2 separate regions of the Homo sapiens genome follow, and region 2 is linked to region 1. The links are contacts of gene promoters, found by promoter capture Hi-C in blood cells and fetal thymus (Javierre and others, 2016). All regions are on one chromosome and are shown on one strand. Each heading gives the region's core, a stretch centred on a gene start or on the middle of the fragment in contact. The rest is flanking DNA. Distances are from core to core; before and after follow the strand shown. Region 1 holds the start of LALBA (lactalbumin alpha). Region 2 has its middle 38 kb from the start of OR10AD1.

Region 1 (2,700 bases), core at 159-2,658:
AAGATCGCGCCACTGCATTCCAGCCTGGGCAACAGAGTGAGACTTGGTCAAAAAAAAAAAAAAAAAAGGAAGAAGAAGAAGAAATCAGGTTTAGAGATGAGGACAAAGAAGACGAATGGTGGCATGAAGGAGCTAAGAGCTACTTGTCACCATGACATGAAGCTTCATGCCAGCAAATTAAAGGAGCTATTCAGAACTAGTATCCTCAACTCTACTTGCTCAGGGGCACTGACCTTATAGAGATTCCAGACATAAGCTTGTTCAGCCTTAAAGTCCAATCTTTCCACTGGCTTGGGTCCTTCCCACTTTCTGTGGCCAACTCTGAGGTTGTCTACAAGTTATTGGTCTTAGATTTATGTAATGTCTCAATGCCAGTGTAGTATTTGGTTATTTACGGTAGGAGTGGTTAGGGGTGGGGAATCTGATAATAGCTCGTAGGATAGCTAGATTCTTTTTTTTTTTTTTTTTTTTTAAAGATAGGGTCTCACTTTGTCTCCCAGGATGGATGGAGTGCAGTGGAGTGAACATGGCTCACTGCAGCCTCGACCTCCTGTGCTCAAGTGTTCCTCCTGCCTCAGCCCCTCAAGTAGCTGGGACTACAGGCACATGTCACCATGCCCAGCTAATTTTTTTTGTAGAGATGGGATTTTACCATGTTGCCCAGGCTGGTCTCGAGCTCCTGGGCTCAAGTGATCCACCAGACTCGGCCTCCCAAAATGCCGGGATTACAGGTGTGAGCCACTGTGCCTGGCCTAGATGCTTTCATACAGGCTTTTCAATTATGCATTTTCCTTAAGTAGGAAGTCTTAAGATCCAAGTTATATCGGATTGTTGTAGTCTACGTTCCCATATTCTATTCCTATTTCTGAGCCTTCAGTCATGAGCTACCATATTAAAGAACTAATTCTGGGCCTTGTTACATGGCTGGATTGGTTGGACAAGTGCCAGCTCTGATCCTGGGACTGTGGCATGTGATGACATACACCCCCTCTCCACATTCTGCATGTCTCTAGGGGGGAAGGGGGAAGCTCGGTATAGAACTTTATTGTATTTTCTGATTGCCTCACTTCTTATATTGCCCCCATGCCCTTCTTTGTTCCTCAAGTAACCAGAGACAGTGCTTCCCAGAACCAACCCTACAAGAAACAAAGGGCTAAACAAAGCCAAATGGGAAGCAGGATCATGGTTTGAACTCTTTCTGGCCAGAGAACAATACCTGCTATGGACTAGATACTGGGAGAGGGAAAGGAAAAGTAGGGTGAATTATGGAAGGAAGCTGGCAGGCTCAGCGTTTCTGTCTTGGCATGACCAGTCTCTCTTCATTCTCTTCCTAGATGTAGGGCTTGGTACCAGAGCCCCTGAGGCTTTCTGCATGAATATAAATAAATGAAACTGAGTGATGCTTCCATTTCAGGTTCTTGGGGGTAGCCAAAATGAGGTTCTTTGTCCCTCTGTTCCTGGTGGGCATCCTGTTCCCTGCCATCCTGGCCAAGCAATTCACAAAATGTGAGCTGTCCCAGCTGCTGAAAGACATAGATGGTTATGGAGGCATCGCTTTGCCTGAATGTGAGTTCCCTGCCTCTGTGTTTCATCCATTCCTCATACGCTTCTCTCCTCCATCCCCTCTTTCTTCCACTTCGCCCCTCCACTTTTACTTAATTATCTAATCATCCTCTTTTCTGCTCATTTGCATACTCTTTTATTTCATGTATGTATATATGTATGTATTTATTTATTTTTGAGGTGGAGTTTCGCTCTTGTTGCCCAGACTGGAGTGCAATGGTGTAATCTCGGCTCACTGCAACCTCCGCCTCCTCGGTTCAAGTGATTCTCCTGCCTCAGCCTCCCAAGTAGCTGGAATTACAGGCACCCACCACCATGCCTGGCTAATTTTGTATTTTTTGTAGAGACAGGGTTTCACCATGTTGGCCAGGCTGGTCTCAAACTTCTGACCTCAGGTGATCCGCCCTCCTCAGCCTCCCAAAGTGTTGGGATTACAAGCGTGAGCCATCATGCCTGGCCCCATTTATTTTCCTATCCTTTCTTTCTCTTATTGTCTGATTTTTTTTTGGAATTCTCCATCTCATCAAGAAACTCTGAGCTTTGCCATCTTTGGAGATTGGCTGGAAAGCATTTTTGTCTGAGAATTACAGTTCCTCCTTTATGCAGATCCTGTACATCTCTGTGGTATCTCTTTCTCATCTTTCCCTCAGTGATCTGTACCATGTTTCACACCAGTGGTTATGACACACAAGCCATAGTTGAAAACAATGAAAGCACGGAATATGGACTCTTCCAGATCAGTAATAAGCTTTGGTGCAAGAGCAGCCAGGTCCCTCAGTCAAGGAACATCTGTGACATCTCCTGTGACAGTGAGTAGCCCCTATAACCCTCTTTCTCTGTTTTTCTGAGGCCTGCCCTTGGGATAATCTCCTTTTTAGTGCCAAGCAGACCTCAGGCTTCATTGCCTTGGCTGGGCTCTATAAAAATTGTGGGACTTGAATTGGCAGTACTGAGTAAGAAGCTGTTTGGATTTTTCATGGTCATCAAATCCCCAGACAGTTCCTTGAGGTTCAGTGGTAGACAATCGGAGCTGTCTGAGAGTCTTGGAATCTGATTGTCTGCATTTTCAGGGTAAGTCAGTTGATGAAGCTGATGATTCCTCCAGAGATATCCCAGGGAAATGAAGGAAGTCCCTAC
Region 2 (3,007 bases), core at 213-2,712, 330 kb after region 1:
AGAGATGAATATGGTAAGGTATATAGGAAGGGGCATGAAGCTTCCATACTCTTTCTTGGAGCAGTACCCTCAAAGAACCTCTGTGTGTTCAGTTATCTGGAAGCTCCTGAAATATATTTCTTAAATAATAAGACTTGAAAGTCTAAATGACTCCTTGATCCAGGGGCAGCAGCATGAATATTATGTTAGCAGCATGAAAACAACATTCATCTCCTTGTACATCTCCTCAGAGCTCTTGGATGACCAGGTGCATCATCAATGGGTAGTAATATTTTGAAAGGAATCTATTTTTCTGAGCAGTAGGTCTCAACAGTGGACTTAAAGTATTCCATAAACCAGGCTATAACAGCTGTGCTGTCACTTAGGTTTTGTTGTTCCATTTATAGAGAGCACAGATAGAGCAGATTTAGTGTAATTCTTAAGGGCCCTAGGATTTTCAGAATGGTGAATGAGCATTGGCTTCAACTAAAAGTTAACAGGTGCATTAGTTCCTAACAAGAGAGTCAGCCTGTCCTTTGAAGATTTAAAACAATGCATTGACTTCTCCTCTATAGCTATGAAAGTCTTAGATGGCTTCTTCTTCCAATATAAGGATGTTTTGTCTATATTGAAAATCTTTTGTTTAGCATAGCCACCTTCATCATTGATCTTAGCTAGATCTTCTGGATAACTCGCAGCTTCTCCAACAGCACTTGCTGCCTTCCCCTACACTTTTATGTTTGTTCTTCTATCCAGACCATTAAAACGTTCTCCCTATTAGCAATAAGGCTGTTTCACTTTCTTATCATTTGTGTGTCCACTGGAGTAGCACTTTTAATTTCCTTCAAGAACATTTTCTTTGCATTCACCACTTGGCTAACTGTTTGGTGCAGGAAGCTAGCTTTCAGACTTTCCCAGCTTTCAACATGCCTTCCTCACTAAGCTTAGTCATTTCTAACTACTGACTTAAAGTAAGAGATGTGTGACTCTTCCTTTCATTGGAACACTTACAGGCCATTGTAGAGTTATTAATTGGCCTAACTTCAGTATTGCCATATCACAGGGACTAAGGAAGCCAAGGAGAGGTAGAGAGGGTGAGCAGCCAGTTAGTGAAGCAGTTAGAACAAATACATTTATTGTTTGTCTTCTTAGATGGTTGTGGTCCGTGATGCCCCAAAACAATTACAACAGTAACATCAAAAATACTAAAGGCAGATCACCATAACAGATAACAATAATAATAATAATAATAATAGTAATAAAAGTTTGAAATATTGTGAGACCTACCAAAATGTGACACAGAGACACAAAGTGAGCACATGCTGTTGGGAAAATGGTGCCAACAGACTTGCTTAATGCAGGGTTGCCACAAACCTTCAATTTGTAAAAAACTATCTGTGACGTGCAATAAAGCAAAGGACAAAAAACAAGGTATGTTTGTATCAATTTCACTTCCTAATACTATTTATGTCATTGATTAGATAACTCTTTAATTCAAGATCTCCCATATGATTACAGTATCTCATCCCCTTATCTTTGTTTATTTTTACCATCAGTACAATTTTTCAAGACAACATAAACAGCACTGTAGTTCACATTAACCATAGTCCTGCTAAGACTATTGAAAAAATCCAGTCTAATGCTCAGTCTTGCCATCATCAATGACAAAGTCCTTCTGTACAATTTCCTACAAATTCATCTTGTACAAATAACCACACTCTTAATATGCAGGTCCTAATCTATGTGTGGAGTAACTGGTCACTTTTCAACTATGTTTTCTCTCTACCTTTTAGGGTGTTTTTTTTTTTTTTTGGTGACAGAATGGGTATTTTTTTGTTTGTTTTTACAAATTATTTAAAGTACCTTCTAGGGGTGGCTACTGTCAGGAGAAGGAATCTATTCCAAGATTTGTTTGATATTTAATTTATTTGTAATTTAGATTGGGACTCTGGAGGGAAGATGATAAACAACTATCAAGTATTTAGGTGGAAAGAATAAGTGGATATGAGATCCATAAGCTTATCTGCTATCTCCCACTCATGTGGATGCTAGAGAAGTTTCCTTGTGAACAGAGCATGTACTTTTGCCTTTTCGATAGCAGTAAAAATGTGGCATGCCAAGCAAAATCCCTCAAAGTGTCAGTCAGATCATCATTAAATGTGAAGTGTAGTTCAGGGCTCCTCAATTGCAGAGATACGGAGAATTTGCAGTGGAAGAAACTACAAGAGGGCAAAATCTAGAATTGATGGAGAAAAGGGAAAGAAATCATATTTACCTCAAAAAAGGTCTAGATGATACAATAGAAAATACTATTATAAATTGACAAACTTGCCAAATTTGTCCATCACATGGTAAACAAAAGGTTAAACATAAATCTCAATTTTTGGTGAGGCTGGGACAACATAAATAAGACCAGAAGAAATGTAGGTAAGACATAGCCAGATATTTGATACCAGTATCCTTTTAGTTTCCATAACAATCTCAAAAGCTATTTAGACATTAATTCCATCAAGGCCTAAAGGGAGCAGACAAAGTATCCTAAAACGAATTCTCTTGTGAGCCTAAGTGATTAATTTTCAATATGTATATAAATTGTATATAAATATAAGTTCACATTTATTAAATTCATTACATCTTATATGTGATTAGATTATTTCAGTTATTTTAGAGTTTTCTATTTTTGCTTTTTTTATTATTCATTTCCTTATTCTGAGGGCTAATGTTCAGAGTTTTAAGTACAATATATGCTGAAAGAAGGTAAAGGAGATGTGATTTTCAATTAAATACATAAAGTATGTTTAAAAACCACTGGCATGATCTTATTATTATTTTTTTTATTTTACTTTAAGTTCTGGGATACATGTGCAGAATGTGCAGGCTTGTAACATAGGTATTTTTGCATCTGCTTAAGAGCCTGTCTTTTTTTCTCTTAATTTTAATATTTAAAGAAATTATCTCAGAATATGACTTCTGAAGTTTGTATATCTAAGAATTATTAAATTTGATGTATTTTGGTTAATTATACCAT

Evidence for each region. Contacts are between HindIII fragments. The CHiCAGO score rates a contact against its expected background, and 5 or more counts as called.
Region 2: a fragment that was not itself captured here is called in contact with the fragment with the promoter of LALBA in region 1 in 1 of 17 cell types (megakaryocytes); the score reaches 5.2 in megakaryocytes.

Annotation. Positions count from the first base shown.
Region 1 is chr12:48,568,754-48,571,453 of GRCh38, reverse strand. It overlaps LALBA (lactalbumin alpha), which reads left to right and starts at 1,408. Exons shown (of 4, transcript NM_002289.3): 1 at 1,408-1,566; 2 at 2,214-2,372. The coding sequence starts at 1,434. The HindIII fragment of the contact is 2,055 bases long and covers 259-2,313 here.
Region 2 is chr12:48,239,909-48,242,915 of GRCh38, reverse strand. It overlaps a transcript of LOC102725258 not described here. Among named protein-coding and RNA genes, the nearest start is that of OR10AD1, 38 kb to the right of the region's middle. The HindIII fragment of the contact is 1,075 bases long and covers 925-1,999 here.